Linked DNA regions of Homo sapiens: all the other regions are linked to region 4. Evidence: promoter capture Hi-C in 16 types of primary human blood cells and fetal thymus (Javierre and others, 2016). All regions are on one chromosome and are shown on one strand. The core of a region is centred on a gene start or on the middle of the fragment in contact, and the rest is flanking DNA. Distances in the headings are between cores, read along the strand shown. Region 1 overlaps LOC105378198 (a long non-coding RNA gene). Region 2 has its middle 25 kb from the start of CD14. Region 3 overlaps IK (IK cytokine). Region 4 holds the start of HBEGF (heparin binding EGF like growth factor).

What was found. Contacts are between HindIII fragments. The CHiCAGO score rates a contact against its expected background, and 5 or more counts as called.
Region 1: a fragment that was not itself captured here is called in contact with the fragment with the promoter of HBEGF in region 4 in 5 of 17 cell types (naive CD4 T cells, total CD8 T cells, naive B cells and 2 more); the score reaches 7.1 in naive CD4 T cells.
Region 2: a contact is called between a fragment that was not itself captured here and the fragment with the promoter of HBEGF in region 4, in 1 of 17 cell types (monocytes). The highest score is 5.9, in monocytes.
Region 3: a fragment that was not itself captured here is called in contact with the fragment with the promoter of HBEGF in region 4 in 1 of 17 cell types (neutrophils); the score reaches 5.5 in neutrophils.

Annotation. Positions count from the first base shown.
Region 1 is chr5:140,735,338-140,738,700 of GRCh38, reverse strand. The region is part of intron 3 of LOC105378198 (a long non-coding RNA gene); the gene reads right to left. Among named protein-coding and RNA genes, the nearest start is that of ZMAT2, 37 kb to the right of the region's middle. The HindIII fragment of the contact is 5,793 bases long and covers 1-3,363 here.
Region 2 is chr5:140,606,514-140,609,909 of GRCh38, reverse strand. It overlaps a transcript of TMCO6 not described here and the pseudogene RPL36P11. Among named protein-coding and RNA genes, the nearest start is that of CD14, 25 kb to the left of the region's middle. The HindIII fragment of the contact is 1,243 bases long and covers 1,419-2,661 here.
Region 3 is chr5:140,657,533-140,660,640 of GRCh38, reverse strand. It overlaps IK (IK cytokine), which reads right to left. Exons shown (of 20, transcript NM_006083.4): 10 at 2,979-3,087; 11 at 1,865-1,904; 12 at 1,477-1,702; 13 at 1,308-1,326; 14 at 807-885; 15 at 446-526. Among named protein-coding and RNA genes, the nearest start is that of WDR55, 5.8 kb to the left of the region's middle. The HindIII fragment of the contact is 2,419 bases long and covers 581-2,999 here.
Region 4 is chr5:140,344,888-140,347,912 of GRCh38, reverse strand. HBEGF (heparin binding EGF like growth factor) reads left to right here and starts at 1,310. Exons shown (of 6, transcript NM_001945.3): 1 at 1,310-1,630; 2 at 1,829-2,002. The coding sequence starts at 1,585. RefSeq lists silencers at 1,026-1,075, 1,116-1,395. The HindIII fragment of the contact is 6,957 bases long and covers 1-3,025 here.

The DNA of each region.
Region 1 (3,363 bases), core at 499-2,998, 390 kb before region 4:
CCAATGGTACCTCTGAGAAGCCACCCTGTCATTCTAAAAAGGATGAATACGATTAAGAAACATGTTCACCAGCCTGGGCAACATGGTGAAACTTTGTCTCTACTGATACAAAAATTAGCCGGGAGTGGTGGTGTGCACCTGTAATCCCACGAAACTGAGGCATGAGAATCACTTGAACCTGGGAGACAGAGGTTGCAGTGAGCTGAGATCGCACCACTGTACTCCAGCCTGGGCAGCAGAGTGAGACTCTGTCTCAAAAAAAAAAAAAAAGAGAGAGAGAGAGAAAGAAAGAAATATATTCAGAGGAATCCTATGAAGAAATAGAAAGTAAAACATCTAGTATTTCATCATTAATAGGTAATCATAGAGAAGAATAAAAAGAAGAATAAGGAAGGATATGAGGAGAATTGTTACTAAAGGAAATCTATGTTGTATTTTACTAATTGTTCATTTTGGGGCTTTTTTATTTTTATTTTTTTGTAGAGACGAGGTCTCACTATGTCACCCAAGATGGTCTCAAACTTCTGGCCTCAAGTGATCCTCCTACCTCGGCCTCCCAAAATGCTGGGATTATAGGTGTGAGCCACTGCACCTGGCCTCCTGTTCATTTGGATTTTCACTTCTCTGTTTTATTCTTCGTGCCTTCATCTTACTTTAATATTTTCTAAAATTCTATTTTGAGTTAATACTATGTTTTTTAGTGCATCTCTTTGTATAACATGTTAGCGGTTGCTCTGTCCACAACTTATCAAAGTCTATTCATTTTTTTCCGTCTAATTTCTCTCTGTTGTTTAGGTTGGATAATTTTTATTATTCTATCTTCTAGTTCACTTGTTATTTTTTCTGCCTCCTCCATTATGCTGCTGAACCCACCCACCCCATCCACTGAGGTTTTTATTTCAGTTATTATATTTTTCAGTTCTAAAATTTCCATTTAGTTCTTCTTTTATCATCTATTTCTTTGCTTATGCATTCTATTTTTCATTTATTCCAAGAATGTTTATAATTGCTTATTGAAGCATTTTTACAATGGCTAATTTAAAATTTCTGTCAGATAATTCTAATATCTCTGTCATCACAATGTTGGCATCTGTTGATTGTCATTTTTTCATTCTGTTTGAGATCTTCTGGTATGATAAGTAACTTTTCATTAAAACCTGGATATGTTCATATTATATTCCGCTACTCTGGATCCTATTTAAACCTTCTGTTTTAGTGGGATTTCTCTGATACCATTTAGGCAGAAGGGGGAACAGAGAAAGAAGGAGATGTCACCTAATTACTGCCAGGTGCAGGCAGAAGTCCAGGTTCCCCACAGAGCCTCCATTGCCACCTGAAGAAGGGAGCTCATTGTTACTGCTGGGTAAGCATGGAAGTTCTGGCTCCCCTGACACCACAGTGAGGATGGCCACATTACCACTGGGTAGAGGTCTAAGTCCAGTCTTCTCATATAATCCCCCCTGCTGGGAAGGGAAGTATTAACAAAAGATCATGAGATTTGAGGAAGAAGAAAAAAGAGAGTTTTATTTCCTATAAATGGTTACAATCTGCAGGTTGGGAAATGAAACATCCAGCCAAAATGAAAAGCATCTGCTTCAGAGACAAAAGGGAGAAGCTGGGACTTATGCCCAACAAGATGAGCTATATGTACATATTCAGTAGCTTATAGGAGAATCTATGAATATTTGAGAAAACCCTAATGCATGCAAAGAGAATAAACATATATGTTACATATGTTCCATGTTCATTTTGGGGTGGGGATTTAATAGTAAAGTGAAGTGGCACGTGGCTGTTTATATATAACAAGGTGAAACAGAACACAAAGGCATCTTGTGCACAGCCTCTGTGGACTAGGTGCAATCAGTCTGTGGTCGGTGGTCAGTATAACAATGGAATGTTTAATAAGGCTGGTCAGTAGTCATGGTGAAACCACGATAAAAGAGGGGAGGTCAGCCATGACATCAAGAGGTCTCTTGAGGTTGAGGGAGAAATCTTCCAGACAGTTTTTTAGGAACTCGTTTCTGTTTAATTGTAGGAAGGAAAGTTTTGAGGCAGTTAACAAGGTAGGGGAGTGTTGAGGTGTGACTGACCTCTTGCCTTGCCAAAGCCATAGAATGCAGTTTTCAAAGTTTCTGGGGTCTCTTTTGCAACAAGAAGTCCATTCTGTTTCACCTAGGGGCTTAGGGACTTTAGTTTTATTTCACACTTTCCAGCTTTAGGCTGAAATCTGCCATAGGCAGCATTGATGGCTAAATTTTCTAACATGTCCCATGTCGTTCCCAGGATGGTGTGGATACCTGCCCCAGGTCTATCTAGTCTGTCAGTGGGACTCATGTGGCTAGGAGACTTACAACCAGTTGAATATTTTAGGCCAGGCAAGAAGGAGGCAGACAGCTATTAAGACCCTTTGAACCTTTGAGACTAGAAAAACAGTAACAACAGAAAAGTTGAGAAGGTAAGTTTATGTTTATGTTGTCTGTCATTTCTATGCATTGTGCTACCATAACTTTGGTTTTAGTGACAGACTTGAAGTAGTTGGTTATAGATCTTATAAGTACTTTGACTATCAAAAATAGGAACAAGATAGTGATATGATAATGACAAGGGTTTGTAAGATGGATTGGAAGTAATTTCTAATACTGCAATGAGTCAGCTAAAAACGTTATTAAGGGGATCTGTGGTTTGTACCTCCTGTAACCAGGCAGCCTGTTGGGTGATCTTACCTACATGGGTTGTTAAATCTCCTATAATGTTGATATAAGTGCAACAAGTGGTGTGGGCTATCATGCAAATTCCCCCTTGTTTAGCAATGAGAAAACCTGGTGCAATTTGATTGTCTAAAACCACTTGAGCGAGAGAATTTAAGGACTTCTACTGTGTCATAATACTTATTGCAGCATTTTCAGCAATTTGTCCTATGGTGGCCGGCATTTTTTTTTATCGTATCTCTGTTAGTGTATACTCCGTAGCTGAGAAAAATTACACCCCAAAAACTATGCTACCACATATCCTGATATCCACTTGGTAGCTCTCTTTTAGCTTACCGGAAAGCAAGATTTTCTTTATGATTGAGATGGATGGAAAAGAGGGCAACGTAATGACCTAGAAGGCAAAGTCCTTCAACTTGCCAGCTGTTTATGCATCTGTGTGCCTCTTCTTGAACTGGGGGATCTGACTCAATTCTATATAGGAAAGTGTGTCCTCAAGGGGCACAAGTTATACCTCCAAGGGTATGCCAATTTATACGTTCATTTATGAACAAGATATCTATTATGTGAGTGAACCACGAACTGGTTTTGTTGCAAGCCTTCTAGAAGCCTGCAGAGGCATGATATCTAACAAAGAGGAGCTGTTGTCAGTGTT
Region 2 (3,396 bases), core at 791-3,290, 260 kb before region 4:
CAGTGAGACTCTGTCTCAAAAAAAGAAAAAAGAAAAAAATTCCACTTGCAACAGCAGCAAAAAGAATAAAATGTTTAGGAACAAATATAACAAAAGAAGAGAAGAGCAGACTTACACTCTTAAAACTACAAAATGTTGTTGAAAGGAATTAAAGAAGATCTAAGTAAATGGAATAATATCCCATGCTCATAGATCTTATGATTGTCAAGATGACAATTCTCCCCTAATTCACCTACAGATTCAATGAAATTCTTTTTTTTTTGGTGTGTATGAGATATTGCATTATGATTAGAAATCATTTCCAGCACTTGCTTCTATGCCTGTTGCCCCATGCCCGAGGTAGGGGGCTTGGATCCAGGACAGGGTGTGGTCCTGCCCGGGGGTGGGTCCCAAACAGATGAACAGACTGGACCTCCCCTCCTTTCCAATGCCAGGGAGGCTGCTGAGGAGGACCACAAGTTCCATAATAAAATAAAGATTTTATTATGCTCACAGGGGAGGGTGGCTCATTCCTTGTGGGCAGCTGCTTTCCTCTTGGCGGCCAGGATGTTGCTCAGCTCCTCCTGCTTCCTGTTGGCACAGATGTGTGTCCCCACCCTTTTCTTGATGAACTTGAGGGCCCAGTTGTCCTTAGAAACCTCAAGCAACTCCATGGCATGCCGCTCGTTTGGGGCAAAGCCATACCCCTTTCAGGCCAGGTCTGCACAAACTCAGTGTTCTTGGTGAGGTGCCCATGGTGGTGGCGACTGAGCCTGGGCTTTCTCCTTACCCCATCATTACCTGGGCCCTTGCTGAGACCCCAGTCATGGGGTGGCACAGAGCCATGGCTACTCCTTTTCAATCTCAATGAAAGTCTTATAAGAATCCTAGCTGGTTTCTTTATAGAAATTGACAAGCTAATTGTAAAGTTTATATAGAAGTTCAATGGGTGCAGAATAGATAAAACAACCTTGTAAAAGAAGAGCAAAGTTGGAGGACTCACACTTCCTGATTTCAAAACATTATTGCAAAGCAACAGTAACTAAGACAGTGTGGTAGTAGCATAAGGATAAGCAGACAGATCAATGGAATAGAAGTGAGAGTTCAGAAATATACCCACATGTCTATGGGAAACTTATTTTGACAAGGTTGTCAAGAACATCCAGTAAGGAAACACTAGTTTCAACTAATGGCAAAGGGACACCTGGATATCCATATGCAGATGTATGAAGTTGGACCCTTACCTCAAATCATATACAAAAATTAATTCCACATTAATTGATTACCTAAATGTAAGAGCCAAAACCATAAAGCTCTTAGAAGAAAACACAGAAACTAATCTTTGTGGCCTTTGATTTAGCAGTGGATTATTAGATATGACTCCAAAAGCCTGAGCAACAAAATAAATAATAATAAACTGGAATTCAAAATTAAAAGCTTTTGTGCATCAAAAGGCATTACCAAATAAAGTGAAAAGACAACCTACAAAATGGGAGAAAATGTTGCAAATTATATACCTGGTAATGGTTTACTACCCAGAGTTTATATAGGATTCCTACAACTCGGCAACAAAAAGGCAAACAAATCAAGTAAAAATATGGGAAAAGGGCTTGAATAGCCATTTCTCCAAAGGCACACAAATGCCTGAAAGTCCATGAAAAGATGCTCAACATTATTATTCATTAGTAAAATACCAAAAACAAACAGGCAAATTAAAACCTGGGCAAAGAACTTGACTGAACATTGCCACAAAGAAATTATAATAAATGACTAACAAACATAAGAAAAGATGCTCAAAATCATTGGCCATTAAGGTAATGCAAACCAAAAACACAATGAGAGGCTGGGCGCAGTGGCTCACGCATGTAATCCCAGCACTTGGAGAGGCCGAGGCGGGCAGATCATTTCAGGTCAGGATTTCGAGACCAGCCTGGCCAACATAGAGAAACCCTGTCTTTACCAAAAATACAAAAATTAGCCAGGCCTGGTGGTGAGTGCCTGTAATCCCAGCTACTTGGGAGGCTGAGGCAGGAGAATCACTTCAACCTGGGAAGCGGAGGTTGCAGTGAACCGAGATTGCGCCATTGCACTCCAGCCTGGGCAACAGAGAGAGACCCTGTCTCAGAAAAAAAAAAAAAAGAAAATAGAAAAGCCACAATGAGATACCACTTCACACTCACTAGTATAGCACTAATCAACAACAATAAAAAAAATTGGAAACAAGTGTTGGCAAGAAGGTGGAGAAGAAGGAACCCTCATAAATTTTCGGTGGGAATGTGATATGGTACAGCCACTGTGGAAAATAATTTAGCAGTTTGTCAAAAAGTTAAATATATAATTAATTTTACCATATAATCCAATAATTGTACTCCTCATTATATACCCAAAAGAATTGGAAAGGCATATCCAAACAAAATTTTGTACCAAAATGTTCATATCAACACTATACACTATAGCTAAAACATGGAAATGATTCAAGTGTCCACTAGTGGATAAATGAATACATAAAATGTGGTATACACAGACAACGGAATATTATTTAGCCACAGAAAGTAATGACGTCTGATACATGTTACAACATAGATAAACCTTGACAACATTATGCTAAGTGAAATAAGCCAGACACAAAAAGGCAAATATTGTATGATTCCACTTATGCTGAGTATCTATAATAGGTAAGCTTAGTCAGATGGTAAGTAGATTAAAGGTTAATGGGTTCTAGAGGGAGAGGAGACAGGGAGTTATTGCATAATGGGTACAGAGTTTCTGTTTAGGATGATGAAAAGCATTGTAAATAGTAGCAATGGTTGCACAATATTGTGAATGCAATTAATACCACTGTATTTATTATACACTTAAAAATGGCCAAAATAGCAAATTTTATTTTAAACAGTAGTCTATAAGGTTTTTTCCATTATTATTATTATTATTTTTTTTTTTTACTTTTTAAACTATTTTGTTAAAAACTAAGACACAAACCACACACATTAGCCCGGGCCTACACAGAGTCAAGCTCATCAACATCGTTGTATTCCACCCCCACATCTTGTCCCACTGGAAGGTCTTCAGGGGCAATTAATAAGCATGGAGCTGTCATCTTCAGCCTCCCGAGTAGCTGGGACTACAGGCGCATGCCACCATGCCCAGTTAATTTCTTTTGTATTTTAGTAGAGACAGGGTTTCACCGTGTTGCCCAGGTTGGTCTCGAACTCCTGAGCTTGGGCAATCTGCCTGCCTCGGCCTCCCAAAGTGCTAGGATTACAGGCGTGAGCCACCACACCCAGCTGGGCAATAGAGATTTTTCTGCTCCATTATAATCTAATGGGACCACCCTTGTTTATACTGTTCAAGTTTGACCAAAACATTATTATGTGGTGCATGACTATGTATATATTGCCAGAATTAAAATTAAAAATT
Region 3 (3,108 bases), core at 541-3,040, 310 kb before region 4:
TAGAGCCTAATAAAATAGTTCATCCAAGTAAGAAGTAGCCTTGGGCCAGGCGCAGTGGCTCACTCCTGTAATCCCCGCACTTTTGGAGGCTGAGGAGGGCAGATTACCTGAGGTCAGGAGTTCAAGACCAGCCTCACCAACATGGTGAAACCTCATCTCTACTAAAAATACAAAAACTAGCCAGGTGTGGTGATGCATGCCTATAATCCCAGCTACTTGGGAGGGTGAGGCAGGAGAATCGCTTGAACCCGGGAGATGGAGATTGCAGCGAGCAGAGATTATACCATTGCATTCCAGCCTGGGTGACAGAGTGAGACTCTGTCTCCAAAAAAAAAAAAAAAAAAAAAAGAAGTAGCCCTGGGACTTAGCGAATCAAATTTCCATTTCACCCCCAACTTGTTTCCCAATCATCCCAGCCTCCCTTCCTTAACCAGGTTTCACATACGTGGCTGGGTAGCACTCTGCATAACTGTTGGACATGCCAAAGAAATCTCCCAGCTGCTTTTTGTCTTCTGGCTTCTTCAGCATATGCTATGTTAAAGAAAACACTACACAGGATTCTACCTATTGCTGTAAAGCTTCAGCCAGGAGGGGGCCAAGGGCTAGAAGCCCCAACATGAAAATTCTGAGTGGGCTGTGAGCTGTTATGGGTGCTCTGGGAAGGAACAAGGGATGGTTTCATTCTGTCAAAATTCAGCGTAAAAGGGAAGGAGAGGGGCAGGGTAGGAGGGAGCAGGGAGGCAGGGGGGGTTGGAGTAAAGAGACCAGTTCTCTGGAACCCAGGAACGTATTAAAATAAAGGATATGATTCTGTGCCTTCCCAGCCAGCAGACCCAGCAAACTTTTCATTGATGGACTTGATCAACTCCTTGGTAGACCCAGGTCCTAGGAGAAAAGAGAACTCAGCCCAGACCTTGAACTGAGGCTCTCACAACCTCCTCCCCACAACACACTTAAAAAACATTTTTAAGGCATAGAACCCTTTTGTCTAACAAAGTTTTAAACAAACTCCAATTAATGAGTCACTCTGGTTGAGATGAGGGTAGGGTATCCAGAACATTCCATACTTGACCTCTACCTCACCTCCTCAGAACCCCAGGGCCACAGGAATTATATCTAAGAGCAAATATGCCCTGCCATGGCCCAGGAAGGTGGAGGGAACTCCACCTATTCAATAAAGCAAGACACAGTTCTTACAAGAACCCAGAACCAGGAGGTCCCCCAATCCCACCGTTGCCAGCTCTGAGCCCTACCAGGGGAAAGCAGGACTGCTAGAGCAACTGTGAGATGCTGTGTGTACAACTCACCTTTGTCAACGTCCATGGGCTGGAAAGAACACAAAATGTGAAGTTAGTGTTACCATGAGAGATTCCTACTCATCCCTCCCCCAAGTTTGAAACAATTCCTTACCCAACCTTGCTCACATTTCCAGAGAGGGGCAACTCCATCACCTGGTACTAAGGGCCCACATCTCACCTCATCATCTACTTTTGGCTTCTCAAAGTAGCTGTGTCTCTTCTTTTCCTCTTCTCTCTCTCGGTCCCGCTCTCGCTCTCGTTCCCGATCTCGTTCTCGCTCTCGCTCTCGGTCACGGTCTCTGTCTCTTTCCCGATCACGCTCCCGTTCCCGATATCTCTCCCGCTCCTTGTCCCGAGGTGTCTTGGTTGTGGAGGGTACGTAATCCCCAATGTCTTCAAAAATACTGGGAAAATGGAGATCACTAGCTGGCCAAATTCACACATACACCTTCACTCCCCCTGACCATTTCTCCAGATTCTCATGTCAGCACCTCCCCAAAATGCCAGACACAAGAAATGTACAGACCCCCTCCCTCTGATCAGATGCCAGGGGCTAGGATACATACTTCATGTCAGCCTCAGGAGGTTTCTTCTCTTCCAGCTTCCCTGAAATTTAAAGAGAGGAGTCAGGAACATACTCCTCAGTTAATTTCCACTGAACTTCACCATCCTCTCCAGCTCTTAATGCCCTTTTAAACATCTTCTGTTTAAAACGTGGGTCAAGGCTGGGTGCGGTGGCTCACGCCTGTAATCCCAGCACTTCGGGAGGCCAAGGCGGGCGGATCACTTGAGGTCAGGAGTTTGAGACCAGCCTGGCTAACATGGTGAAACCCCATCTCTACTAAAAGTACAAAAAAATTAGCCGGGTGTGATGGCAGGTGCCTGTAATCCCAGCTACTCAGGAGGCTGAGGCAAGAGAATTGCTTAAACCCAGGAGGCAGAGGTTGCAGTGAGCCGAGATGGCATCACTGCACTCCAGCCTGGGCGACAAAACGAGACTCGTCTCAAAATAAATAAATAAATAAAAATAATAAAATAAGGCCAGGAAGAGTGGCTCATGCCTGTAATCCCAGCACTTTGGGAGGCCGAGGTGGGCACATCATAAGGTCAGGAGTTCGAGGCCAGCCAGGCCAATACAGTGAAACCCCATCTCTACTGAAAATACAAAAATTAGCCAGGCGTGGTGATGCGTGCCTATAGTGCCTATAGTGCCTACTTGGGAGGCTGAGGCAGAAGAATCGCTTGACCCCGGGAGGCAGAGGTTGCAGTGAGCAGACATCGCACCACTGTACTCCAGCCTGGGTGACAGAGCGAGACTCCGTCTCAAAAAATAAATAAATAAAATAAAATAAAATGTCGGTCAAGTATTAGAGCCTTTTTAGAATCTGTCTAGGTTTTCTGGTTTTCACCAAAAAATCTCTTTTAAAAAAAATAAATAAATAGGACATAAGCTACCCACTCTCCATCCCTCATGCTTCAGACCTGACCACTGCTTCTTAGGTAGGTTAAGGAGACAGAATCTGGCTGTAACTGTCTCCTTGCCAATGCTCCAGTACTCCCATTTTTCTCTGCTTCCCAGGAGCCTCTCAATATTCTGGAGACAGAAAGCTCCAGGAGACCTTGGTTTTATCCCCAAACGTCCTCTGTGGGTAAGGCTTCTCTCTCTAACCCTCCAGGTACCTTTATCCTTCTTCTTAAGCTTCTTGTTACGGGTTCCCTGCCTCAGGTATGAAAGGATCTGGGTCAGCTTGCTAATGACAATGTCATTTGTGGTCAGTGTGGTCTGGGCCTGAAAATACCAAGAAACAAG
Region 4 (3,025 bases), core at 61-2,560:
ATGTGTTCCCGCATTCATTTCTCAAAAAGCTCCCTACAAAGTAGTCATTATTATTATTGTTATTATTTTTTCCATTTGAGAGACGTCAAAACTGAGGCTCAGTGAAATTAAGTTTCTTGTCCAAGGTCACACAGTAAGTAGCAAAGGCAGGATTCAAACTCAGGTCTGTAGTGATTCCAGTGCACTATGGAAACCTAGGCCTAGGTTACTGGAGCAAGTTAAGAGGGCAGGGCCAGACTGACCCCTGCAAAGGTGGGGATAGGGAGGGACAGTGGGATAGACTGTGTATAAATAGCAGGCCTGTTTTTATCCCTACACACAGGCAGAATCCGGCAAGTGCTCTATCTGGCACAATTTCAGGGCTCTGAAAGCCAACCCAGCCCTGTGTCAAACAACTCTCTCCCCAGCACGTCCCTGGAAACTGAAATACCTACTGAGACACTCATTTCTTTGGGTCAGGACAGTGACTCCAGAAGACCCCTGCAAAAGCACATGGGTTGGAAGAGAAACACCTAGTGTCTGTGAAACAGCAATCTAGGTTAGCCAGCTGGGTCCTATGGGAGGGTGGCTCATTTTTTATGTTGAGGAAAAAGGTGGCAGTCAAAGGCAAGGAAAAGAATAAGGCTTGTTTCACAACCTGTGTCTCTCCAATCTCAGAAGCCTGGGAATTACAACCCATAGTTCAAAAATCCTAATGTCCCCTGAGGGAAGATGGGAGGAAGCCACTCCAGAGACTAAGAGAGTACTAACTTCCTTTGCTTTTGCTGGATTGATACTAAGTGCCTGCAACTTCAACTCTGGTTATCTCGGGTTTATGAGAACGGCTGGCATTCACGTGTCTAATTTTTAAATGATAGATGAATTAATTATTATTTGATACTTGCCGTGTTGGTAGGCCAAAAGGTGGGCTTCTGAAACTTAGAGGGTGACAGGGATGGAGACCCCTGGTATGGGGCTTAGATGAAGCAAGAGGCCAGGCCCGGAACAGAACTCAGCTCAGCAGTCAGTCACAAGGCTGCAGAGTGACAGGCGTTTGGGGAAAGGTAGGAACCGCTCTCCGCCACCTGCCGGTCAGTAGCCCTACCCACAATCAGGCCGCGGCTGCCTCGGCCTGGTCCCAAAAATTGTGAACGCCGCCCTCTCCTCCCGCCCAGTCCTCCGCCGCGCCCGCGGGGTCGGGGGCTGCGCTGCCGGCGCCGCGAGCCGGGCGAGCTTCCCAGCACGGGAGGAGGGAGGGGGCGGCGCCGGGCGGGGCGGAGCTTCCGCGCCTCCTGGAGCCTTATTCCCGGCCGCGAGCCGGGCAGCGCTCATTCGGCCGAAGGAGCTACGCGGGCCACGCTGCTGGCTGGCCTGACCTAGGCGCGCGGGGTCGGGCGGCCGCGCGGGCGGGCTGAGTGAGCAAGACAAGACACTCAAGAAGAGCGAGCTGCGCCTGGGTCCCGGCCAGGCTTGCACGCAGAGGCGGGCGGCAGACGGTGCCCGGCGGAATCTCCTGAGCTCCGCCGCCCAGCTCTGGTGCCAGCGCCCAGTGGCCGCCGCTTCGAAAGTGACTGGTGCCTCGCCGCCTCCTCTCGGTGCGGGACCATGAAGCTGCTGCCGTCGGTGGTGCTGAAGCTCTTTCTGGCTGCAGGTAAGAGGGCTGCCGACGCCCCCGGAGATCGGGGGGATGGGGGCGTTGTGCTGGGGGCATGGGGGAAGGTCGCCGCAGCGCACCCGGCACGGGCCACTTGGTGGGGCCCTTGCGCTCTGGCGGACGGGCGTCGGCATCGGTGCGTGTTGGTCAGGGGTCTGGGCGGGTGTCTGATGCGGCCTGGCCTCTCGCCCGCAGTTCTCTCGGCACTGGTGACTGGCGAGAGCCTGGAGCGGCTTCGGAGAGGGCTAGCTGCTGGAACCAGCAACCCGGACCCTCCCACTGTATCCACGGACCAGCTGCTACCCCTAGGAGGCGGCCGGGACCGGAAAGTCCGTGACTTGCAAGAGGCAGATCTGGACCTTTTGAGAGGTGGGTGTGGAGGCCCCCCATCCTTGGACCTTGGTGGGCTGTTGAAGAATAAGCAGATCCAAGATTCTTGCTGTTTGGGCAATACTGTGGGTTGAGGGTATTCATGGAGAACCTCGGGGAAAAGCTGATCGGCCTGATGGGCACTGGGGGATCCTGGAATATAGGTCCCACTCTCTCTCTCTTGTCATTGCCTCACCTGCTGGGTTGCTGCCCTTCTGGGTACTCCGGGGCAAATTGAATCAGACGTGTTGTCTGGGGTTGTTACGTTCTTCTTAGGTAAGCTGGGTGATAGGAACAAGGAATGGTTGAGATGCTTTCCCTAGAGCTACTATGTAAAAATGGGCGCCAGTTCTAATTCCCATATCAAATGACTATTATATATAAAATAGAGGTAACACATGCGGAGATGCCCAGGCACATCTCTAGAAAGTGTGCAGTGTTGGCCTCCTCCATCCACCTGTCTCCAGATTGGGGAAACAGAGGGGAATGAGGAGCTCTTGGCCGCCCTAGATGAGGCTGTGAATGGTGAGCACTGAGCCCCTAGGGGGCTGTATTAAAATGCTGGATATCTGTGAATGCTACCGGAAACCTGCAGCTTACTGAGCACCTTGCATTCCTGAGGAGACTCCAAATGGGGAGGGCTGTGTAGGATCCTCCAACCAGCCTCTTTGGCTGTGGCCAAGTACAGGTACAGGGCAGAGTCCAGAGCCTGCCAGCTCTCCTGCCTCCAAACCTGAGGAGATTATCCAGAGTAGAGCAAGGACTCAGCACTGTACCCTGGAATGACTATATTTGGTTGGACAGATGCCCACCTGTTCTAGTTCCACCTGCTCCTCAGCTGCCCTTCTCCCTCATTCCCAGGAGCTTTCCTTGGATACTCTCTCTACTTTGTATAAATCAAGCACATACTCCAAAACTGAGCCTGGGCTCCCATACTTCATCCTCTCCCAGTGGCCCTCTGGGGTTGCCCATGACCTGAACAGCCTGGATTCTCCTGGCCCTCTCCTCCTAGGCTGGGCAGGG